Regions from separate parts of the Homo sapiens genome. Here regions 1, 2, 3, 4, 5 and 6 are each linked to region 7. Evidence: promoter capture Hi-C in 16 types of primary human blood cells and fetal thymus (Javierre and others, 2016). All regions are on one chromosome and are shown on one strand. The core of a region is centred on a gene start or on the middle of the fragment in contact, and the rest is flanking DNA. Distances in the headings are between cores, read along the strand shown.

What was found. The method cuts DNA at HindIII sites, captures the fragments that hold promoters and counts their contacts. A CHiCAGO score of 5 or more calls a contact.
Region 1: the fragment with the promoter of PEX5 here is called in contact with the fragment with the promoter of SLC2A3 in region 7 in 2 of 17 cell types (M2 macrophages and erythroblasts); the score reaches 7.7 in M2 macrophages.
Region 2: a contact is called between the fragment with the promoter of LPCAT3 here and the fragment with the promoter of SLC2A3 in region 7, in 5 of 17 cell types (total CD4 T cells, total B cells, naive CD8 T cells and 2 more). The highest score is 8.6, in total CD4 T cells.
Region 3: a contact is called between the fragment with the promoter of CLEC6A here and the fragment with the promoter of SLC2A3 in region 7, in 7 of 17 cell types (monocytes, erythroblasts, M0 macrophages and 4 more). The highest score is 13.4, in monocytes.
Region 4: a contact is called between the fragment with the promoter of RBP5 here and the fragment with the promoter of SLC2A3 in region 7, in 9 of 17 cell types (naive CD8 T cells, total CD4 T cells, activated CD4 T cells and 6 more). The highest score is 10.7, in naive CD8 T cells.
Region 5: the fragment with the promoter of CLEC4E here is called in contact with the fragment with the promoter of SLC2A3 in region 7 in 2 of 17 cell types (neutrophils and monocytes); the score reaches 17.1 in neutrophils.
Region 6: the fragment with the promoter of MIR200CHG here is called in contact with the fragment with the promoter of SLC2A3 in region 7 in 5 of 17 cell types (naive CD4 T cells, naive CD8 T cells, neutrophils and 2 more); the score reaches 10.7 in naive CD4 T cells.

What each region holds. Positions count from the first base shown.
Region 1 is chr12:7,187,645-7,191,029 of GRCh38, reverse strand. PEX5 (peroxisomal biogenesis factor 5) reads right to left here and starts at 1,344. Exons shown (of 16, transcript NM_001351132.2): 1 at 1,280-1,344; 2 at 506-668; 3 at 107-142. The coding sequence starts at 652. RefSeq lists enhancers at 518-597, 55-770, 628-777, 771-1,487, 1,488-1,547 and 2 more and silencers at 968-1,377, 2,398-2,447. The HindIII fragment of the contact is 37,708 bases long and covers 1-3,385 here.
Region 2 is chr12:7,016,727-7,019,997 of GRCh38, reverse strand. LPCAT3 (lysophosphatidylcholine acyltransferase 3) reads left to right here and starts at 1,522. Exons shown (of 13, transcript NM_005768.6): 1 at 1,522-1,724. The coding sequence starts at 1,574. RefSeq lists a silencer at 912-1,171. The HindIII fragment of the contact is 11,114 bases long and covers 1-3,271 here.
Region 3 is chr12:8,454,546-8,457,804 of GRCh38, reverse strand. It overlaps CLEC6A (C-type lectin domain containing 6A), which reads right to left and starts at 1,843. Exons shown (of 6, transcript NM_001007033.2): 1 at 1,663-1,843. The coding sequence starts at 1,693. The HindIII fragment of the contact is 4,980 bases long and covers 1,262-3,259 here.
Region 4 is chr12:7,126,640-7,130,139 of GRCh38, reverse strand. RBP5 (retinol binding protein 5) reads left to right here and starts at 1,251. Exons shown (of 4, transcript NM_031491.4): 1 at 1,251-1,437; 2 at 1,722-1,900. The coding sequence starts at 1,365. It also overlaps a transcript of CLSTN3 not described here. RefSeq lists a silencer at 1-12. The HindIII fragment of the contact is 14,463 bases long and covers 1-3,500 here.
Region 5 is chr12:8,539,344-8,543,111 of GRCh38, reverse strand. It overlaps CLEC4E (C-type lectin domain family 4 member E), which reads left to right and starts at 2,207. Exons shown (of 6, transcript NM_014358.4): 1 at 2,207-2,351; 2 at 3,165-3,257. The coding sequence starts at 2,315. The HindIII fragment of the contact is 5,761 bases long and covers 29-3,768 here.
Region 6 is chr12:6,961,452-6,964,741 of GRCh38, reverse strand. MIR200CHG (MIR200C and MIR141 host gene) reads right to left here and starts at 1,497. Exons shown (of 2, transcript NR_135032.1): 1 at 1,394-1,497; 2 at 295-541. MIR200C (microRNA 200c) reads right to left here and starts at 1,043; the gene lies at 976-1,043. It overlaps MIR141 (microRNA 141), which reads right to left and starts at 645; the gene lies at 551-645. It overlaps LOC105369634 (a long non-coding RNA gene), which reads left to right and starts at 1,643. Exons shown (of 2, transcript XR_931601.2): 1 at 1,643-2,203; 2 at 2,621-3,110. RefSeq lists enhancers at 1,583-2,384, 2,626-2,835, 2,644-3,162, 2,385-3,184, 3,185-3,290. The HindIII fragment of the contact is 14,599 bases long and covers 1-3,290 here.
Region 7 is chr12:7,934,460-7,937,816 of GRCh38, reverse strand. SLC2A3 (solute carrier family 2 member 3) reads left to right here and starts at 1,630. Exons shown (of 10, transcript NM_006931.3): 1 at 1,630-1,797. The coding sequence starts at 1,783. RefSeq lists a silencer at 1,452-1,501 and an enhancer at 2,569-3,357. The HindIII fragment of the contact is 4,746 bases long and covers 520-3,357 here.

The DNA of each region.
Region 1 (3,385 bases), core at 95-2,594, 750 kb after region 7:
TTCGGTCAGGAAAGCCCAAAAATTGAAATACGGGTGAACTAAGTTTAAAGGTAAAAACACAGTGGGCAAGAGAAAAATGGGACAGAAAAGAGACTGGTCTATTTACCTCATCTTCAGAAGCTACTCCCAAAGGCTTGGAGGCCTAAGAGAGAAAGACAGAGATGTACAATGACGCAGTTCCTCTAAAATCAGGGGTTGATGAAGCCCATAGGCATCTGAGCCTCGGCTTCTTCATCTATAAAATGGTTGCATTTATTTAAAGGTGCACAGGGTTTTCTAGTGTTTATAAACGCTCAGTAAGTGGTAACTACTATGATTTGCAACACAATAGAGAAAGCAGTTATACCAAGATGTGCAAACAGCCCCTCCACCTCAGACCACCACCACCTGGGCTTTCCACCTCAAGAACACTCACTGCCTCAGAGGCTGCACCTGGGCTTTCCACCTCAAGAACACTCACTGCCTCAGAGGCTGCACCTGGGCTTTCCACCTCAAGAACACTCACTGCCTCAGAGGCCGGGGCTCCGGGGGGCCAGGGGCCAGGCCTCAATCCCTCCTGCCGAAGGGCCTTGTCCTGGGTGAAGTGCCCGGCGAGCTTCATGAGCGGGTTGGCACCCCCGCATTCGGCCTCCACCAGCTCCCGCATTGCCATGGTGACCGCCAGCTCTCTGATGGACACAGGAGGTTTGGAACTGAGGTACCCAAGCCAGACCCTTCTCACATCCACAACTCTGCCCGTATCTGAGGAAGGCACACAGGCGTCTGCCCCACACTGGCCGCCCTCCACCCCAGTGCTTTTGCTGCGACCCCCACCTCTGCCAGGAGTTCGAGGGAGGTCGGTACTCTCTCCTGCCGCCCCCCTCAAAGGCCACCGCTTCCAGCCTGCGCCTCTGCAGAGGCCTCCGCGACTACGGTCCCATGGGCTGGGGGCCAGCAGCTGCCTCCACAAAGGGGCCTGGACCCCGGGGGACCACGGGGACGCTTCAACAACCAGGCTGGACGGCGACACTGCCCGAAGAAGGGACAGTGGGAAAACAGCCCGACCATACCTAGCCCCGCGCAGCCCCAGCACGCGGTGAGCACGGCAGAGGAGCATTCCCTCCCCTTAAGTCACCGGAGCCCTTCCCCCGGCTCGGCCCGGTCCCTCCCGCGCTCCCCACCGCCCATCTCCCCGGCCCTGCTGCCGCTCCAGCCCCGCCCCTGGGACCCGCGAGGCCACCGCAAGGGTGGGGAGGGCCCAGGGACGCGGCCCCGGGCCCCCTCGGGGTCAGGCGCTCACCGCGGAGCGCCGCGCCGCACGACCCGCCGGGGCACCAGGTGCTGGCTTGGGGGAGGGGAGAAGAGGGGGCGGGGAGCCAGGGGGCGGGGCTCAGGCTTAAAGGGGCCGTGACCGCCCCGCAGCGGCCCAGGCCCAGCGGAAGCTGTCTGAAAAGGCGGGGCCTTAAGACTGCGACGCAGCCTGACGGGAAGAGCCGTGAGTCTTAAAGGGGAAGAGCACCTTAGAGAGCGGGTCTTGGAGAGTCGCCTTTAGGAGCGCTCGAAAAGGCCACGGGCCCTAGGATTTGTTTGACGGAAAGCTCAAAGAAGAGTGGAGCTAAGAAGGGCTTCCCAGGCTCTGGGGGAAAGCCGAAGACGCGAGATCCTAGGCTCAGTCGATCCTGCCTCTTCCCTTGGGCGCATTGTGACCTAAGGGGATTCAGTGCCCTTTCTGAGCCTCAGTTTTCCCCTCTAAAATGGGGCTGGCTAATGTTCCCAAGCCCAAGAAAGAGAAAAGCCCTAACACCAGGGGCTGGGGAGTCCAGTCCGAAGCCTTCTTCAGCCTCCTAGGCCTGCCCCGCTTCCAAATAACCCCTAGCGGGGTAGCGTCACTGTCTCCATGGAGACAGGGGCCCGCCCCCGCCTTAATCCCTCTCCACCTCTGCATAATGGGGAAAATAGCACTGCATGATGACAAATTCCGGAGACCAAAATAGGGTCCAACGCATCCTGAGACCTCGAGCTGGTAACGTACAGGGAAGGTGAACAGTGAGTCAGCCCTTCCTTCCGCTAAGTCAACATAGTGGCCTTATTCCCATCACTCCAGGCTGGGAAAGGACAAACATACAAGAAATGCTTTTAATCACGGAATAAGACTAAGCCTCAAGCCCCCTCATCTGCCAAAGAGTGTGCTCTGCTGTCAAACCTCAAAGTCATTGAGAAACAAACCCTGATAATCTCACCCAGCTTCAAGACCAAGGGAGTCCTAGTGTCATGGAGAAGAGCAAGGAGGGGCCCAGGGCTGCCGGTAAATGACCAAGGGCAATAATGCCAGACGAACAGAAGTACCATCCCAGCCCAGGGTGCATGAGCGGAGGCAGGCAGGCAGCAGGTGGCGCCATGGGCCGGGCTTGTTTCCTGGCTGTTCTGCAGATTTCAGAGGTGGAGGCCTCAGGGGGCCACAGGGAATGTCTGTGTAAACTCATCCCTGGGAAGACAGAGAAGCTGCTCTGACACCTCAGGGGAACAGAATGGCAGGGGACAGACCATAAGACTGTGCAACATTTCTCCTTTTCCTTGCCTTTTCGCCCTCTTTCAGAGGCCCCACTTCTACACCCCGTTTTCTTCCGGAGCACACAAATCCCAGCCCTTGGGCGTCCCCTGTTCTCAGGCTGCCATCGTGAGGAAAATACCTGATAAACTAAACCACACAAGGATGAAGAGATGCCCTCCAGAAGGTGCATACTTTTAAAAAGAGGACCCCCTAGAGAGAGCAATGTTTAAAGGAACCCATCTGATACAGTAGAATTTCAGAACCTCAAGGCAACCAGAGTTTCCCAGTACCACTTAAACATCACAACACACATAACCTTCTGCTCTGCTAGGAGTTTATCAACTGATTAGCCGTAACTCACTTTGTGTGCAGATCTTGGAAGAATGCTAATAATAATAACTGATGTTTACTAAAATCCAGGTGTTGTGTAAAACACTTTATGTATCTCAATGTTTTTAATCTTCTTAATACCCCTATTAAATAGATATTAGTAGACCCACTTTACAGATAAGACTTGTGCAAAATCAGATGGCTAGGAAGTCAAAATTTAATCCAGGCATAACTCTAGGCACCTACTTCCCAGTCTTAGAGAAGACTTACTGATAAACCATGGAGATCTTTGATCTCCTAGGCCATAGAATCATTCACAGAACTTGGTCCACAGTCCCAGCCAGAGGTGCTGGGAAAGGGCTAATAGAGTGACTTTGGTGTTTAATATTTAATTTACTGAAGCTCTAGATTTGAAACCCTAGATTTTGTTAATCCAGGTTCAACTTTAAATTCTTGTTCTATTCATAAAAGTAGTAATTTTTATAAAATAAAAATAATTTTTACTTATTCTTTAATGTTTGACGA
Region 2 (3,271 bases), core at 273-2,772, 920 kb after region 7:
AAATACCAAAGTCAGCAAAGTGGTGACCTCTGAGAAAGGAAGGAGGGAAATGCCCTCAGGAAGGGATATACCGGCTTTTCAAATGTATAGGTGATGTTTGTTTCTTAACCTGGAGAAGTTATATTATCCTCTACTTTTCCGTGTGAATGAAATATTTTGTTTTTTAAAATCTTGCCCAAAATGGGAGTAGGGGTAGGGAATTTGACAGACCTAGGTTTAAATTCTGTCTGCCGCTTACTTGTAAAGGAACTTACCCAGTTTCTTAATTTCTCCAAGCCTCTGTGTCTGTAAGAGGACATCATCATAATAAATATTCTATTGCGCAGCCAAAGCAAGTGAAATAATACGGATGAAAGTGCTTTATAAAGTGCAAGTGCTACAGAAGTATAAGCTGTAATTTTACAAGAATGCGCCACAAATTATTGTAACTAAGAGTTATTGCAAGAAACTCTTAGCATTCCTTTGTTACATACTCTCACAGAACCTTGACCCTTTCCTTCAGAGCACTTACCTTCTCTTGCAATAACACGTTAATTGATGCTATTATTTGTGCATCCTCCCACTCCGTGGCTCTGGGCTCCTGATTCTATTCCCAAGCCCAGCACAGTCCCTGGCATATGGTAAGTGCTCGACAGATTTTTTTTTTTTTTTTTTTGGCGTAATCTTAACAGGATTACCTGTAGGAAGTGAGAATGAAAAGCAGGGAGGGGAAACAGGACTCTTCTGTTTTACATTTCTATACTGTTATAACTTTTATCATAAACATGTATTACTCAGTGCAAAATTATTTGAATTTTTAATTAAAATAATAAGTGTTAAATAGGCATATCTTAATTTCATCGCCTCTAGGGGGAAGGTCATGTTTTACTACAGGAAACTGCATGGAAAAGGGATCCATGAAATAAAAGGAGCAGACAATGTCTGTTCCTGGGGCACTGGGCTTTCCGCTGAACCTCCGGGAGTGAAGGCGACGAGTCTAACAACCTAAGAATTTAAGAACGGGCCGGGAGGCGCCGTTAGGGGGCGCGCGAAAGGCGGCGCGGGCGTTCCCGCCTCCCCGTTACATGCCCCAGTAACCCCAGCGCCGGCGACCGGGAGTAACCTCGCGCGCGGGCGGCCCCCCCGCGTCCAGACTCTCGCCTGCTCCCGCCTCAGCCAATGGGAAGGCAGCGAACCGGCCGGCCGGACGGTCGCCCCGGAGGGCTCCTCCTGGGAGCATTTCGAACGGAGTTGAACTGTCGCCGGGCCACGGGCTCAGACCTTTCCAATGGCAGCTCTGGGTCCCGACGCCAAGCCCCGCCCAGCCCTGAGCCTCCCCGTGTGCATTCTCGGCAGGAGTCACCTTTGCCTTACAAACCTTCAGACCCGCCCTCTTCCTACCTTGCCGCGCTAGGCCCCGCCCTCTGCGCAGGTCGGCCAATAACGGGGTGAGCTGGCGCCGCGGGGCGGGCCTCCAGCCAATGCGCACGCCGTGGGCGGGCCCCGAGCCGGAATTGGGGGTGAAGCGATAGCGTTTTGCCCGCATTCGGGGCGCGCGGAGCTGGGGGGTCCCTGTGGGGCTCCCGGAGTTAAGATGGCGTCCTCAGCGGAGGGGGACGAGGGGACTGTGGTGGCGCTGGCGGGGGTTCTGCAGTCGGGTTTCCAGGAGCTGAGCCTTAACAAGTTGGCGACGTCCCTGGGCGCGTCAGAACAGGCGCTGCGGCTGATCATCTCCATCTTCCTGGGTAAGGACCCTCCTGCCTCCCTCCGCCCCTCGCGGAGTCCCCGGGGAGTAGGGGAGGAATGGGGACAGGACCTCCCTCTCTTCCCGGAGCCACCCGGGAGGGCTGTGCCGGGTGCGGGTGTGAATCCTGAAGCACACCAACAGCTACTGAGGGAAGACAGAAGTCCTGTCTCGAGTCTGGGGCGCTGTGCCCTCTGAACCTCTTCATCTTTCTCTTCAACCCCTGCCATGCCCTCTGGCCTCTCAGTCGGGCCCCCGCCCTCTTGTGCCAGGCTCTACCCTTGCTCCCACGACCTGTCTTTATTTGTCGCTCTGTTGAGTTCCACTGTCTGGCCATGTGTCCTGCTCTGTCATTAATAACCACCCCGCACACGCGCGCATCTCATCGGTAGGCATAGGGCCCCTAACTTTAGCCCTTTCGGCCTTTTCAGCCCCATATTCCATATTTCATATTCTGAGCGCCTGTTTTGCTTATTGCCAGCTTATATTATACTTTCGTCTCTTTTCTGTCCCAGTCCTACTATTTTCTTTTTATACCATGTTGCTTTTTTTATTTTCCAAGCCACCTACCTGTCATTTACCCTGGAATATCATTTTAATGCTGGACTTGGGAAACAGGACTAACAACCTCCTTAAAATCGATCCATACTATTCCAAGCGTTTATTACACGTGTGGTTCAAAGGATGTGGTGTATCTGAATTTATGCCACAACAAGCTGTATTACAACTGGTTTATAGGCTTTTTTACCGCATCCTCACTCCATGGTTTAATACATGGAGGTAGCATAGTACAATGGAAAAAAGTATGGGTTTTGAAGGCAAACAAATCAGATCCAGCCTTGTTGCTGCTCACAAACTGAAGGACCCTACGCAGGCCGCAAAACCCTCTGGGCCTAATTTCCTTATCTATGAAATGAGGACAACAGTGCCTACCACATAGGATTGCCATAAAGTCCTGTAGAAGGGCCAAGATTGGGAAGTACCTGTACATATATATACATAAAATTTAAGCAGTTGGAACGTTTTATGAAGGTTATAGAACTTTAGGAGCGGGTGAGTGGGAAGGATTAAGCAAAAGCTGTAAGTGGTGATAAGGAAACAGGACTGGGGCTAGAGCAGAGGGTTAGAGGTCTGAACCATGAGAAGTTTGAGATAAAGTTGGGCAGGTGTGGAAAGCCTTAAATGCCAGAGAGAAGTTTGGCGTTTATCCAGTATTCAGTAGAAACACTGATATATAATATCACCAGAGGGTGTTAACCCAATCTAGATAATGGGATAGGCATTAATTCATATTTAAACAACCTTGCCTAATAGCATTGTTACTTTCCTATTACATATCAAACCAAGATCTTCCTTTCTTCCAAATAAAGATCACCTTTTTCTTCCTCTGTGGAATCGTAAGATTTTAAAGATGGAATGGAACTGGGGTTGTGCAGTTTGCTCAGTGTCACCCAGACATCATCCAAATTTATCAGCACCCTAGTCTAGGCTTATTTGCACTACACCAGCTTTGAACTTCCTACTCTTTCATCCTTGTTTCTGACCCAG
Region 3 (3,259 bases), core at 594-3,093, 520 kb before region 7:
AACCTCAGAGCAGTTAAAAACTTAAAGCAAGAAGACAGCTTACAAACTCCCTCAGAATAAATAACCAGGTAGTAGCTCTGTGGTCCAAAAGAATACAGGTAAAACATACACTCAACCAACTGGAATTTCCATGTCTTTATTCTTTCTTCTAAACTATTACATGTTTCCATTGATTTCGTTTCTCAAAACATCACTTTTGTCTCCCATTTCTCATATCTCTGTATTGATATTTGGTTTCTTCAGTATATCCAAGAGATATCTGCACTCCCATGTTTATTGTAGCACTATTCACAGTAGCCAAGATATGAAAGCAACCTAAGTGTCCATCAACAGATGAATGGATAAAGAAAATGTAGTATAATATATACAATGGCATATTATTCCACCATAAAAAAGAATAAAATCCTGCCATTTGCAACAGCACAGATGGAACCAGAGGACATCGTGTTAAGTGAAATGAGCCAGGCACAGAAAGACAAACATTGCATATTCTGACTCATATGTGGGAGTTAAAAAAATTGATCTCATGGAGGTAGTGAATAGAATGGTGGTTACCAGAGGCCAGGAAGGTTAACTGGGAAGAGAAGATAGAGAAGGGTTGTTTCGTACCTACAAAAATACAATTAGCTAGAAGAAATAAAATCTAGTGTCCCTTAGCACAGCAGGATAACTGTAGTTAACTTTTTTTTTTTTTTGACATGGAGTCTCACTCTGTCACCCAGGCTGAAGCACAATGAGGCAATCTTGGCACCCTGCAACCTCCACCTCCTGGGTTCAAGTGATTCTCCTGCCTCAGCCTCCTGAGTGGCTAGGATTACAGGTGCATGCCACCATGCCCAGCTAAGTTTTGTCTTTTTATTAGAGACGGGATTTCACCATGTTGGCCAGGCTGGTCTCTAACTCCTGACCTCAAGTGATCCACCCACCTCAGCCTCCCAAAGTGCTGAGATTACAGGTGTGAGCCACTGAGCCTAACCCAACAATAATTTATTGCATATGTCAAAATAGCTAGAAGAGTAGATTTGGAATGTTCCAAACACAAAGACATGATAAATATTTGAGGTGATGGATAATGTAATTTTCCAGACTTTACCATTACGCATCATATTCTTGTGTCAAAATATGACATGGAGCCCATAAACATGCACAACTATTTTGTATCCATAAAAAATTTTAATAAAAATTTTTTTAAAACATTATTGATGGACATGCAAAGGGTTGAAGCTAAAGTCAAATTTTCATGCATTAAAAATGGGAAGCTTTTCTCTTACAAAAAAATTAGAAAAGCAAGTACAAAAAAACTTAGGGTAATTGGAAAGAGTACTGCTTCCTGGATTTCAAAATTAGTCAAAAGACTTTGAAGAGCAGACATCCAATAATCAGTTATTTCCCTGTTTACCTTCTATCATGTAAATCTTTTCTGTCTCCCTAAACTATCAATAAAATCTGGTACAAACCTCCCAAAAAATATTTGCTTTCTTATTCTTTCAAGTGCTTATGGCTCTGGCTCTGAAGAATTACTCTTTCTTTCAAATTCCTTTGAGTCTACTATATTGGTCCAATCACTAGCTCTTCAATCTGTTCTTTGGCTACTTCTTCTCTCCAGGTGATCTCATTTCACCATACACTTCCACTTTCCTCTGAAACTGAGGAAATACTCACCTGTACTTTGAGGTTGCTGCTCTTGCATCATTATGCAGGCTCCCTGTGTTGAGAAGGTCCAGGAACCTTTTGTACCTCTCTCCCTAAAGATGTTGCCCAGAGACTCAGCTTCATTTAAAGAAGCTAGAGCTCAGGGACAAACTGCTACACACTCTTATAGGACTAAGAGACTTCCAACATTAAGTGTACCTCAAAAGAAGAAGTCACAATTACAACTAAAGTTTCCAGTGATTTCGATACGTGGGGTTAAAAAAAACAAAAGAGGAATTGAGAAACATTGAAAACCATTCATGAGAACTTTGACAAGAATACTTAGATCATTTCTTCAGTTTCTAACATAAAATTTCTCTGTCTGATTCCTATTCATTCTGGCATGCAAAATAGAAAATTTTTTATCTCCTAAAAGACATCTATTTAGAGAACTTGGTTAAATTAAGTGCTCCCTAACTAACCTTTACATTGGCTGCTTATTTTATGCAAGCCTTAATCCATGTGTTGAACAGTGTCCTAGGTAGTAAGCAAAAGTTTGATTGGATGGATATGGTTTAGATATGAAGGGTAACATAGTAAATAACAAAACCCATGAACATTGTTAAGGAATGTGACTGCAAAATGAAACATTCTGAAATCAGTCTGCAAAGGTGATGAAACATTCTTACTGCATCCAGACTAATATTGGGCAGATGTCAGTGATATTTTGTAATCTCCCTGATTAGGCAAAAGGGAGCCTGAAGTGATATAAAATCAGAAACAGGCTTCATGAATTTTATATTGTAGCACAGAAAATATATGATGTTTTCTTGTCCTCATAGATTCTTAGTAGAGACACTGTCCTGAAAACAAAAGGCAGAGAAACAAGAGAAAAAGCAGCAGTTTATCAATGTGTGTTATACCCATCACTCAGGAGAGAACTCAGTTCAAATGTATTTATCTCTTTCATGGCAGTGGCTTACAGGCCTTGCTTAAATAGTATGTTAACAAACAGCCATAAATCTATGGAGTGCTGAGAACGAAAAAAAAAAAAAACTGTTATTTGAGGAATGTGAGTGCCTTGAAACTATCAAGTCCAGAGTGGACTCATGAGAGAGATATGACAGGAGTCATGCCTCACTGCCACCTTGCACGAAATTTACCTCTTGAAGCCATTTGCTATGTAGGTTCTAGACTAACTGAACCCTAAAATTTAACAGTATACAGCTAATTACTAATCAATGTGGTTTCTGTAAACCAATGATAATTTACTGATGAGTAACTTTTTAATTCACTCCCTCTCCTGATTCATTCTTTTTTTAATTTTTATTTTTCCATAAGTTATTGAGGTACAGGTGGTATTTGGTTACATGAGTAAGGTTTTTAGTGGTGATTTGTGAGATTTTTGTGCACCCATCACCCAAGCAGCATACCCTGCACCATATTTGTAATATTTTATCCCTCATCCCCCTCCCACTCTTCCCCCCAAGTCCCCAAAGTCCATTGTACCATTCTTATACATTTTGTGTCATCGTAGCTTAGCTCCCCATATCATTGAGAACATATGATGTTTGGTTTTCCATTCCTGAGTTACTTCACTTAGGATAATAGTCTCCAATCTCATCCA
Region 4 (3,500 bases), core at 2-2,501, 810 kb after region 7:
GGGAGAAAGAAGCCAGAAGCCAGGGGGTGGGGAAGAGAGACGTCAGCGGGACCTGAGGGCGGCCAGGAGGGGTGGCACCGCGTCACCCCGCCCCCCAACTCTGCCATAACCTGTTTCCACAGCCCCTTCCATCCACAGATCCGTGCTGCGTGCCCTCTGGGAAGGGTGAAGTAAAACCCTCAGTCTGAGCCTGAGAAATCCTGGCATTTGTAGCCCAGGGCTGCGAGGAAGCCACAGGGCGGTCCGCAGGGCGGTATCGAGGCTCTGGGACCCAAGGAGGGGCAGGACGTCGTGCACCCCTCGCGCACGCACCTGTCGGGACCGGCCGCCTCCTCCTGCCTACCTGTCCTGCCTCCTTCGCCCCGAATTTCACCTTAAACCATGATGAACCAAGCCCAGTGGATTCTGAAGCCCGGGACGATGGCAGGTTCGAGAGAGAATTGGGCAGCTGGGGGCGGGGCACAATATTATTTAGGCGCCTCCACCCCACCTTCACAGAAATACATCTGGAAAGCATGGGCTGTCCTAGGGCTGGGGACTGGGGGTTACGGTCTCATCGATGACTCAGAGGGAGAGAAAACCCCCTGGGTCCCAAGCCAAAAAGAATAAAATTCTCCAGAATAGCCAACAAACTCCTCTCAGGCTGTCTGTTCCGGACTTTGAACTCAGCACCCCTCGGGCTCCACCTCCCTCCTAATGGCTCTTTAGGACCAAGAGTCTGGAATGCCACTTTGGGGTCCCAGTTGAGCACACTACCTGAGGGAGCTCTGAGAGCCAGGCCTACAGGGTGCTCTTCATGGTGGCAGCTGGCCATCCTCACCCCCTCCCCTCACATCTTCCAACATCACTCAGTCCCAGGATCTCAGGATATTGTTGGAACTCATCTCCACCTCACACAGCCAGACCAGCCTCAGGTGTCTCCCAGGAAAGACTGCCCCTCAGGCCCTGGGACGGTTCCCAAGCCTGCCAGAAATGAGGTGGAGGCCAACACTGACCTTTGGATGGCTGAGTTTTGGATGACTGACAGCCCCAGATCCTGCTCCAGGTTCCTTCCTCAGGAAGGATCCTGCTCCAGGTTCCTTCCTCAGGAAAAGCCAAGGTCAGGCGCAACTTTGCCAAATCCCTGCCCCTCCTTCAGGCTGGAGACACCACCCCCAAACTCACCATGCGGGGAGGGAAGAAGTCTGGTAGGGACTCTTATTGCAACAGGGCCCCAGCCTTATAAAAAGCCCTGGTAACCCGGCCATTACACATCCTGTCTCTGTGTGTGGAGCTGGCTGGAATCTCTCAGCCTCACCTGCCAGACAACACCCCCTCCTTCCTCACCCTGTCTCCTGCATTCTCCTGAAACCTTCATCCACACAATGCCTCCCAACCTCACTGGCTACTACCGCTTTGTCTCGCAGAAGAACATGGAGGACTACCTGCAAGCCCTAAGTAATGGCCTCGCCCTCCCAGACCCCTGTCACTCCCTTTCTCCCCTCTTCCTTCCTGCTTCTTGGTCCCATGGAGAAGAGGGAATGCCCGGGGTTGGACACTGTGGAAAGGCTCAGGCGGCTGGCACCAGACCTGGGATCCATTTCTAACCAGGCATTGGTAGGAGGGGGTGAATCCACAGTCCCAGACCCAAAGAAGGGAAACTCACAGCCCTGAGGGGCTGCTGCAGGCAGAGGAGCTCCTGGCTGGCTAGCAGCACCCCTACTAACAGGCAGCCCCCACAGACATCAGCTTGGCTGTGCGGAAGATCGCGCTGCTGCTGAAGCCGGACAAGGAGATCGAACACCAGGGCAACCACATGACGGTGAGGACGCTCAGCACCTTCCGAAACTACACTGTGCAGTTTGATGTGGGAGTGGAGTTTGAGGAGGACCTCAGGAGCGTGGACGGACGAAAATGCCAGGTACATTTCCCCTGGCTGGGCGGTGGCCGGAAGGAGGCATCACAGGAGACTCCTAACAACATGGGGCAAAACAAAGTGACCTTCCCCAGCCAGAGCAGCGGGGAGGAGGGGAATGGTCACCACAGCAGGGAATGCAGTCCCCAGGATACCAGTCTCCAGAACTAACAGGTCCTGGTGCTCCCTGTCTCTCTCCCACTTCTTCCCTGCCCCCTCTTATCACCAGCCCAAAGGGCAAAGAACAGGCCAACCCAGACCGAAGAGCAAACATTTGCCCACCCTCCAGCCTGTGACACTGTTGGTCACCCAGAGTCCCTTTTACTTTAGCATCAATAACTTCACTCTCCTGCATTTCTTTCTACTTCTTACATATTCCTTCTTAGCCTCCTTTGCAGATCCTAGTCCTCCTATTAATCCTTTAAACTGGAGTTTTCTCCGCAGAGTTTTGTTCTTAATGTCTTCTCCCTTTTGTCTGCCCACTATCCATAGGCTAAATCATCTACACCCATGCCTTCTGCTTCCATCTATAGGCTGCCCTTGGCATGAATTCTCCAGCCAGAGCCATCTCCTGAGCTCCAGGGCAATGTTTTCAACTGCCTACAAAATACAGTTGGCCCTCCATATTCATGGGTTCTGCATCCACAGCTTCAGCAAACTGCAAATGGAAAAATATTTGGGAAAAATAAAAATAAAAAATAACAATACAAAATGATACAAATAAAAAACAATACAGTATAGCAACTATTTACAGAGCATGTACATTGCATTAGGTATTATAAGTAATCTAGAGATGATTTAAAGCATATGGGAAAAGGCTGGGCGTGGTGGCTCACACCCATAATCCCAAGACTTTGGGAGGCTGAGGCAGGCAGATCACTTGAGGCCAGGAGTTCAAGACCAGCCTGGCCAACATGGTGAAACCTCATCTCTACTAAAAATACATAAATTAGGCCAGGTGCAGTGGCTCACACCTGTAATCCCAGTACTTTGGGAGGCCAAGGCGGGCGGATCACCTGAGGTCAAGAGTTCGAGACCAGCCTGACCAACATGGAGAAACCCCATCTCTACTAAAAATACAAAAAATTAGGCAGGCATGGTGGCGCATGCCTGTAATCCCAGCTACTCAGGAGGCTGAGGCAGAAGAATCACTTGAACCTGGGAGGCAGAGGTTGCAGTGAGCCAAGATCGCACCACTGCACTCCAGCCTGGGCAACAAGAGCGAAATTCTATCTCAAAAAAAAAAAAAAAAAAAAATACAAAAGTACAAAAATTAGCCGGGCATGGTGGCGCATGCCTGTAATCCCAGCTACTTGGGAGGCTGAGGCAGGAGAATTACTTGAACCCGGGAGCCAGAGGTTGCAGTGAGCCAAGATCATGCCATTGCATTCTAGTCTGGGTGACAGAGCAAGACTCTGTATCAAAATGATAATAATAAAGTACACAGGGGGATGTATGTAGTTTCTCTACAGATACTAAGCCATTTTATTCAGCAGATTTAGTGAGGTGGGGGTCCTGGAACCAATTTCCATTTGAATGCCAAGGTCAAATTCAAATTCACTGTCTTCCTATCCAAACCTACCCCACTTTTATATCTACTCTCTCC
Region 5 (3,768 bases), core at 958-3,457, 600 kb before region 7:
GCACGTTGTGCACACGTACCCTAAAGCTTAAAGTGTAATAAAAGATAAATAAAAATAAATAAAAATTAATCCCCCCCCCCAAAAAAGAAATCATTAAGCATGGTCAACTTTAGAAGAATGCACTAAGGATAGTTAAGAAGGCTTTTACTTGTCACATGCTTTTCATAGTATTAATCATAAAACATATTACTCGTATAATTTGGGGAAAATCAATGAAACAAAAGATATAAAAACATTTTGGCTGGAAAAAATATTAATTTATTGATTTCTGTTTAATTGTATATTGATAAAAATTAACATACAATTGTTTAGTAATATTGATGGTTGCTGGTTGATTGTAATTAATAAAAGATGGACTGTGGTAATTATGTTCATCATTTTATAATTCATATAGCTCATCCACTAGATAGTTTCTCTTTTTTTACTGATCAAAAGCTATTTGCTGAGAATACACATATTAAATATGGGTATATTCTATAATATACACATATATAATTTAAAGATATTTTTAAAATTGTATTACTATAAAACAGAGAATGCAGAGAAAATTGACCAGTACCTTGAAATAATAAAAAGTCCCTTTGAGAACAAGAATATTTTCTCACACATGGAAAATTCGTGAGTCACTGGATGTGGGGATTTACCAAGTCATGTACATCATACTTATGCCTCCTGACTCGTGAACTTAAATAAACTGAGACCAGTGTGATCTTATTCTTAAGTATCTTTAAGTAAGGAGAAGGCACATATCTAACTATTCTTCCAGAGAAGCATTAATTCTTTTTTTTTTTTTTTTTTGAGACAGAGTCTCACTCTATCGCCCAGGCTGGAGTGCAGTGGTGCAATTTTGGCTCACTGCAACCTCTGCCTCCCAGGATCAAGCTATTCTCCTGTCTCAGCCTCTCAAGTATCTGGAATTACAGATGCGTGCCACCACACTTGGCTAATTTTTGTATTTTTAGTAGAGGTGGGGTTTCACCATGTTGGCCAGGCTGGTCTCAAACTCCTGACCTCAAATGATCCACCCACCTTGGCCTCCCAAAGTGTTGGAATTACAGGCATGAGCCACTGCTCCCGGCCCAGAGAACCATTAAATTCTAATATCTAATTGAAATTGCTTTTTCTGACCTTCAAATACATTTCTCCTACTGTAGGCTGTAACATAGAACTAAAATCCCCAAATAATTGAGAACAGGAGAATTAAACTGCCTGCTGGGTCTCTGAGACTTCAGAAGCTGCGTTATGTTGTGAAAAACTAAGCTGAGTTTCAAAGTGGTCTAATCACATGAGGCTGTCCTGCTGAGGGGGACTCTAGTAGTCAGCCTAGTAGTAGCAGCCTAGTAGTCAGCATAAGATAAGAGGGACATAAATCCACAACATTAGAATATTCAAGAGCTGCAAATGAAGAAGAAAGAAAAACCATAAAAGATGAAAAAGAGGACGGGCGCGGTGGCTCACGCCTGTAATCTCAGGACTTTGGGAGGCTGAGGCGGGCGGATCACGAGGTCAGGAAATTGAAACCATCCTGACGACCACAGTGAAACCCCGTCTCTGCTAAAAATACAAAAAATTAGCCAGGCGTGGTGGCGAGCGCCTGTAGTCCCAGCTACTCGGGAGGCTGAGGCAGGAGAATGGCTTGAACCCGGGAGGCGGAGCTTGCAGTGAGCGGAGATCATGCCACTGCACTCCAGCCTGGACGACAGAGCGAGACTCTGTCTCAAAAAAAAAAAAAAAAAAAAAGATGAAAAAATTCAGGTTGCCATGTCCTAAATACATACACTATATGCCCAGCTTTGTGCTATGTTGTCTAAGTCTTCTTTTCAGTTACCAAATGTGTGGATGGTACAGATCCAAAGTGAAATTCAGAGTGCAGAGGTGAGCTCCATATTGTCAAGGAAAAACTGGGGGATGAGTTATGCCTTGAAGAAACTAGAGACATTTGGTCCAACGAAACGAAACAACATTTAAAAAAAAAACTCTCCTGTTTCCCCATGGCTAGCCTATTTGTGTTGATGCTTACCATTTCATAATTTCCTCATTTTGTTGTTACATGGAGTGAAGAGAACTGACATGCTGTCCAATAAACTTCCTTGTCCTCCTTATGCAAGAAAGGAAATCCTGACTTAATGCGTAGCCACAGAACAAGTTAATATTCTACATCTATCGGAGCTGAACTTCCTAAAAGACAAAGTGTTTATCTTTCAAGATTCATTCTCCCTGAATCTTACCAACAAAACACTCCTGAGGAGAAAGAAAGAGAGGGAGGGAGAGAAAAAGAGAGAGAGAGAAACAAAAAACCAAAGAGAGAGAAAAAATGAATTCATCTAAATCATCTGAAACACAATGCACAGGTAAAATCTGCAACTCTTCCTTTCCTTCCATAGATCTCTTTTTGGAACAAGTGATAAATATGGTGAAAGACAGGACAATAGAAAAGTATTCACTGAAGTTAAAAAAAAAAGTGGGGGGACAGAGGAAGAGAGAGAGAGAGATTTAAAGACTATTTCTTATACCAGAAAGCCTGCTGGCCTCTAGCTAAGGGAGAGCTATCAGTTTCCACCCTTTCTGCAATACATTGTGTCCCTTTTGGCAAGTCACTTCACTTCTCTGGAACTCTCTTTGTCTGTAAAATGTTTAATGGGAGGAAGAGAGGAACTATTAGATGACTGTTAACATTTTACCTAATTTACAAAGCGCTTGAAAAGTGAGACACAGAAAAAAAAAAAAGATCAGGAGAAGGACAAGAAAAGCAAAGACGAGAAAAGGGAAAAGAAAGAAAAAGAAAGAAGGGGGGCCTTAGAAAATACTGAAAAAAATTTAACTGAGAGACTTAGAAAGGAAAAATTGTATATCTGAGTTCATGAGTCAGAGTCTTACTCCAGGGGTGCTAAACGTGTGGTCCTCAGACCAGCAGCAGCAGTAGCCCCTGGGAACTTGTTGGTTCCATACAAACTCTACTGAGTTGCTAACTCTGGGGGTAAGGGTCAGCAATCTGTGTTTCCATAAACCCTCCAAGTGATTCTGAAGCATGCTGAAATTTGGGAATTACTCAGTACAAACAATGGAAGTAGAAGGAAATAAGTAAGGATGAATAAGAATCTCTTCTATCTCTTTTGTACCTTGCTTAGGGAAGATTGATCATGTTTGTGTCTTTCTTTCTACAGAGAGAGGATGCTTCTCTTCCCAAATGTTCTTATGGACTGTTGCTGGGATCCCCATCCTATTTCTCAGTGCCTGTTTCATCACCAGATGTGTTGGTGGGTTCTGAAGGTCAAATTCAATTTAATTCTTCCTGGTGCATATTAGGAGAAAACTCTTCCATGCTGCCTGTAGACTCTCTTTGCCCTCAAAGGGTCTTTCTATTTCACCCTTTTTTTTTTCCCTATTAATCTCTAGGTTATTTCTCAAACCAGAAACCTCAACAAGCAGGGAACTGTTTCTGAATTTTAATCACCTGTGACTTACTTTTCATGATAGACATTTTTCACTTCCTTGGCAGTCCTGAATCCTCCTCTTTCAGCCTCTATCATTAGTGTAACCTTCTCTAGGAGAGTCTGCCTTAGAGCTTGAACTACTGGTCGGCACCAGAGATATGACTAATTACTTTTGGAAGGAAGGGTAGAGAGAGTTGGACTTGGCATAAGAGGTAGTGCAAACATATCTATTTTCTCTGGGTCGTAAGAAAAAGCAGATTGTAAGAAAAAACATGATAATTATTGGCACTTTTGTTATAAATACAAAACTGAGGGAACTGACATTTTTAACCGA
Region 6 (3,290 bases), core at 248-2,747, 970 kb after region 7:
ACCGTTTATACCTGAATCTCCCACTACTGCCCATTTCCCATCCCTGCGGGGAGACAAGGAAGATGTGGAACTCAGACAAAACATAGGTGCAAAGTATGTCCAGGAACTGCCAAATGCAGATAGGGCAGCAGGTGGATCTGAACAGAGGGACTGGGTTAATCTGCTTCGATTTTTAAGATATTTTTCTCTGCTTGGGGTTGAGTATCATGAAAGACAAAGCAGACGTCGCAGCCCCAATCCTGAGTTGCTGGGAGGCTAAGATGAGATAAACAACTAGACAAAAGACAGGTCAAGTGACTTGGATCAGTCTTCCTCATGTTCCCCTTCACACTTTATTTATTTCATGCTCCCAAGGCGGGAAGACAATGGAGGTGCCTAGGGAACCAGTGTTTCCACATCTTGCTGCAGCTGTAAAGGCAGCCATTTTGTCTCCTTCCCATTGTTCCCCTTTGCCTAGTGATTCGTCCCCCATCCAGAGGGGTGAAGGTCAGAGGTTGTTGGTCAGTAGTCCTCCATGGTCTTCAGGGCTCCCTGAAGGTTACTGCCGAGAGAACCCACCCGGGAGCCATCTTTACCAGACAGTGTTAGGAGCTTCACAATTAGACCATCCAACACTGTACTGGAAGATGGACCCAGGGCCGGCCGACAGAGAACTACGGTGCGCGCTCACCAGTTGCTACAGGGGACCCTGGCCACAGGCCAGGTGAGGTCTCTTGAGAGGGGGCGAGCCAACCCCAAGCTCAAGGTCGACTGTGGGTTCTGGATCCACCAGGTGACAAATCGCACTGGGTGGGAGGAGGGGCTGGGGCCCATTGTGTCCCTTAGTGGCAGCCAGCCAACAAGAACCACCCCTTGTGCAACGCTCTCAGCTCAAGACGAGGGGCTTCCGGGGTGCGTGGGAAGTGGGGAGGGGGCTGCAGCCAGCTAAGGGCTGGGGACCTGAGGCGATGGATGTTGCTGACACAGGGACAGGGGCCTCCATCATTACCCGGCAGTATTAGAGACTCCCAACCGCACCCAAACACTGCTGGGTAAGACGAGGGCCCCCGCCCAGCCCGCCCACCTTGGGTCAGGCAGCTTCAGGCCCAGGATCCCTGCGGAAAAGCTGCAGATCCCTGGCTCCCATCCCCCCACCACCCGAGTCCCTGGGGACACTTCCTGGTGAGCCCTGCTGCCCGCCACCAGCCACACCCTGGGTCGCTGATCACGAGGCCCAGGTTGCAGTCCAAGCAGGCCCTCCGAAGCCCCTCGACCGTCGGCCCGCCGCCTCTGAGCCACCTTCCCCTACCCCCGGCAGCCTTTCCCGACCCGCGACACACACCGATTTACCCACCCTCATCCCCCCTCTGCAGTCCCAAGCTCAGCCCAGGACCTCTCCCCTGGTGGCCTTTACCTGTCACCGGGCCCACCTGCCCCCAGAGAGTGGGTGCTGGGGAGACGAAGGGGCTTTAAGGCCCCAGATTCCACGGCCTAGAGCCCGCCCTGGCCTCCGCTCTTCCTCCTTCCTTCTCCGCCTGCCGGGCAGCCAGCGCAGGCTCCTTACCTGGGCCCCGCCTGCCACCCTGCGCACAGGTGTGTCCTCCTGCCATAGGCTGCCCCCCCACTGCCTTAACCCCTTCCCTCCCAGCGCCAGCCACGGGCACCTCCTCTAAGGCTTGGCCACTCCTCTAGGCCTCCCACCCTCTCCCAGGGGCCTCTTTTCTCCAACCTGCCTAGTCTCACCCCTGTCTCCAGAGGTACAAAAAGCGGGGGCTGTCCTTGGGTCCCCTCCCCACAGCAGATGCTGCCCCCAGGACTAGCCCATTCCTCTGTGGCCTCAGACCCTGCCCACAGCGGAGCTGCAGGCCAGAGAGATCCCTGAGGTCAGCGAGGGGTCAGCTGGGCAGGAGTTGGGCTGTGCCGCCCCGCAGTGCCCAGCCTGTGCTGGGATCCCCTGAGGGAAAGGGGAGGGAGAAGGCCCCGCCAGGCCTGTGAAGGGCAGGCGGGTCCCAGCAAGGTGTCGCTAGTGTGAAGTTACCCACCGCTACCCAGAGACCCCAGCTGGCCCGGAGCATCAGCCTTGCCCCTCGATTGAGGCCTGCAGAGGGAACGATCGCGCTCCACTCTCCGGACCGAGCTGCTCCCGGACCCACCTCACAGCACAGCCCTCAGTGGAGTCCAAGTCCCACCCCAAGGGCAGGTAGCCCAAGGGCGGTTAGAGGAGGTGGGACTTGCCTTTGTGCAGCTGCGGCTTGTATAGAAAGGGCGTTGCTGGGAGAGGGGACCTGGGCCCGACAGGTGATTGCCCCACCCGTGCCCTGGAGGGCCACAGCCCCAGGGAGCTATTGGGTTGCTCAATCCCTCGCTGTTCTCTCTCCCAGGCTTTGTTTGCTTCCTTCTTAATACCCGCCTGCAATTATTTGATGCTTGTGATCGGTTTGTGAATCTGTCTCCCTGACCAGCCTCCTAAGTTCCAGGAGGTCGGGGGACTGTGAATGCCTGTGACGCCGGGGGCTCTGTAAGGATTTGCTGAGTAATGCACGCCCAGCCTCTGGGCTTTGGGACCTGTGCTGTCTCAGCCTTTCCAGGAGTGGGCGCCAGCACTTCCTGAGGGATGACTCCCACCGGCTTTACTCCCCAGGACACCAGTGTTTCAAATAAAGAAGAAACCCCACTCCTGACATGGGGGAAGGAAGAGGGGACAAAAAACAAAGCACTCTTCACGTCAGCCAGCTCTTCAAACTCTGCCCAAGAGGATAAGGGCAGCAGCGGCCTGGATGAGGGGAGGAGCTGGGCGTGCCCGGGTGCTCTGAGGAGCCTGTCCCTGTTCCCGCCAGAGGGGACGCAGCCGGGCTGGCCTCAGGTCTGCGCTTCCGGCTGTTAACTACTCTTCTTAGTTCAGATCTGGAACTCAGCATCAGGGGAGTGTGATCAGGGCCCCCCTGAGGGTGGCCCCAGCTGCAACTCCAGGGTAAGGAGTGTGGGCTCTGGGGTCAGACAGCCTGGGTTCGAATCCCAGCCTCACTGTTCCATAGCCCTGTGACCTTGGGCAAGTGACCAAGTTACTTAGTTTTTCTGTCCCTCAGTTTCCGCCACGGTAAAATGAGAATGACAGAAGTGCCTAGACTGAACTAACGTGTGTAGTCTTTTAGTGCCTGGGCACATGGCAAGCGTGTGATGAGTCACTGTGCCCGTCTTATCGTCAGCCGTCATCTCGGTGCTTTTCACAACCACCCTGTTATGATCGCCCTCCATTTTAAAGAAGGAGACTGGGGAGCTTCACCCACGGTCACCCTCCCACGTGCGAGGCG
Region 7 (3,357 bases), core at 381-2,880:
TTTTATACTTTATAAAAAGGGAAGAAGGGAAACACTATAAATGACTTGTGGGTCAGAACTCTTTTGTCCTATTATTCTTTTTTTTTTTTTTTTTTGAGACGGATTCTTGCTCTGTCGCCCAGGCTGGAGTGCAGTGGCGCTGTCTTGGCTCACTGCAAGCTCCGCCTGCCGCGTTCACGCCATTCTCCTGTCTCAGCCTCCCGAGTAGCTGGGACTGCAGGCGCCCGCCACCATGCCCGGCTAATTTTTTTTTTTTTTTTTTTTTTTTTTGTATTTTTAGTAGAGAATGGTTTCACCGTGTTAGCCAGGATGGTCTTGATCTCCTGACCTCGTGATCCGCCCACCTCGGCCTCCCAAAGTGCTGGGATTACAGGCGTGAGCCACCGCGCCCGGCCTTTTTTTCTATTATTCACTGAAGAATCACCAGCTTCTTGGAGAGTACCTGATACATAGCGTGTATTCGGCAAATACCTGCTTAATTGAATTCGGTATTTATTGCATTTCTAGATGCTATAAGCTTGAGACTAGCAGAAAGTGATGCAGAATTCAGAATGGGTGATATGGCAAATGCCTTATTAAATATAGGGCTCGGCGCGGTGGCTCACACTTGTAATCCCAGCACTTTGGGAGGCCAAGGCGGGCAGATCACAAGGTCAGGAGTTTGAGACCAGCCTGGCCAATATGGTGAAACCCCGTCTTTACTAAAAATACAAAAATTAGCGGGGCGTGGTGGCGGGCGCCTATAGTCCCAGCTACTCGGGAGGCTGAGGCAGGAGAATTGCTTGAACCCGGGAGGCGGAGGTTGCAGTGAGCCGAGATCGCACCACTGCACTCCAGCCTGGGCGACAGAGAGAGACTCCATATCAAAAAAAAAAAAAAAAAAAAAAAAAGGATATGGATTGTATTCCATAAACAGTTGAACCTCTTATTCCTACTGCCCTGATAGTTGGTCTGGCTCCTAGAAATTCAGATTTTCTTCCCTCCAGGTGAGATTATGCGAAGAAAGGAACACTGGCAAAATTATTTCCCTGATTTTCTTCTCTCAGGCTGTCTTTCCCTCCCCTTTAAGATTGTGTACTCCGTCTCAAAAAAAAAAGAAAAAAAAAAGATTGTAGACCCAGCCTATAAATTCATAGGATCAAGAATTCTTACTAACACTCTTTCTAACAACCTTAAATCTCTGATAGTAGCACCCACTTGACTTCGTTTTGTATGGATAGATTTATTCTAATCTCTCTGTAGATTGTTTTAATCCCAAGCAGATGCGAGAGCATAAAATAGTGTATTTGCCCTCCCTCCAGGCTTTTCTGGTAGTATTTTGTCTGTGAAACTAAGAGGCTCTAGCTGCTATTAGAAGAGGGAAGGAGTAAGGATGAGCTTTTGAAAAAAAAAAAAAAAAAAAAACCCAGGGTGGAGAGAGTGGAAGGATGTGGTTTTAAGAGAGGGGGGAGGGAGGGCGTTATTGTCTGTGGGGCGGGGGCGGGGGTAGTTCTGATAACACAGAATTCCGAGAGATCACAAGATTGCTTCAGGGGGGTGGGGTGGGGTGGGGTGGGGCTGGGGGCTTGTCGCCCTTTCAGGCTCCACCCTTTGCGGAGATTATAAATAGTCATGATCCCAGCGAGACCCAGAGATGCTGTAATGGTAAGACTTTGGATCCTTCCTGAGGACGTGGAGAAAACTTGCTGCTGAGAAGGACATTTTGAAGGTTTTGTTGGCTGAAAAAGCTGTTTCTGGAATCACCCCTAGATCTTTCTTGAAGACTTGAATTAGATTACAGCGATGGGGACACAGAAGGTAAGAATGATATAATTACTGGTTATTTTTGCTTGTTTGGGATACACTCAGAAAGGCAAATATTAATGGTAATCTCCTTGTTCTATTTTCTCCTAAGTCACCAAGCTATCTTAAGGCCTTTTCATTTCGTCTCTAGCCTGCACTGCTGCCGCTTCATCAGTTCTCTTTGAATGTCATACAGTTCTGTTCACCTTATCATAGGAAAGTCACCCGGAGAAGTTGTGTTTGCTTCTCAGGTTTATTTTAGGTAACCATATGCCACTGAGGACGAGATGGTTGAGTGTTTAGAGGATCGGGCTGCTTGGTTGTATGGATTACAAGTGTGGGTCTCAGAGCCAGTGTGAAGACTTCTCTGGAAGCATTAGACCTTGAAAAGGTCTGTGTTTGGAGGCACAGGCCAGGGTCTGGCCATCTGTTTGTCCTATAACATATGGGGTTCGTGGATGCTAAGGAGAAAGAATTCCAGTTGTCCTTCCTATTAGGGTTAAAATCGTGAGTGCAGGACATACTAAAATATTGAGTGTTGTATATGCATTATTTGCAGGGAGAAAGGCTTTTCTTTTTTTTCTGATTGAGTTTTACTCTTGTTGCCCAGGCTGGAGTGCAATGGAGCGACCGCAGCTCACCACAGCCTCCGCCTCCCGGGTTCAAGCGATTCTCCTGCCTCAGCCTCCTGAGTAGCTGAGATTACAGGCATGAACCACCGGGCCCGGCTAATTTTGTATTTTTAGTAGAGACGGGGTTTCTCTATGTTGGTCAGGCTGGTCTCGACTCCCGACCTCAGGCGATCCGCCGGCCTCGGCCTCCCAAGGTGCTGAGATTACAGGCATGAGCCACTGCGCGCAGCAAGAAAGGCATTTTTTACCAAGATAAATTTAACTAAAAATAAGGGGCCAGGTGTGGTGGGTCACACCTATAACCCCAGCATTTGGGAAACCAAGGCAGGAGGATCACATGAGGCCTGGAGTTTGAGACTAGCCTTGGGCAATATAGTGAGATCCCATCTCTACAAAGCAGAAAGAAAGAAAATGTAGGAAAATAAGAAAGGGATGGAAAATTATGAGACTAAAGAAGAAAAGGCTCTCAAAGATAGTGAATGATGAGAGGAGACAGAAGAGATTTTTACTAAACGGAAAAAGATTTAACAGAGCATTGCACTGGCAGGGCCCTCCGGGGTACCGATGCTTAGCTGGGACTGAGACATCTGGGAGGCTGCAGGCAAGGTCACTTCTCCTGCTGAAGCTCCCAGCCTGCTGCCTAATCTGCCCGACCTGAAAGGAAAGGAGTTTAAGATATGAAAGGTTGAAGGGATTTTGGGTGGTGGGGTGGGGGGGAATGGCGTAGAAGTTGGCCTCAGGTATAAAAATTGAGCTGCCCCAAGGTAGAAATGGAAAATGTCTCGCCCGGCTGAATTATTCCAGGCAAGGTGAAGATGACCGGTTCTCCCCACTAAGAAATGTCTCTTATATGTTGGGTTCGCCCTTATATGTTGGGTTCAGAGTAAGTACTTTCTTCCCCTGCGCGGGAGTTAGGGATAGCAGAACTGTATTTAATAAACGA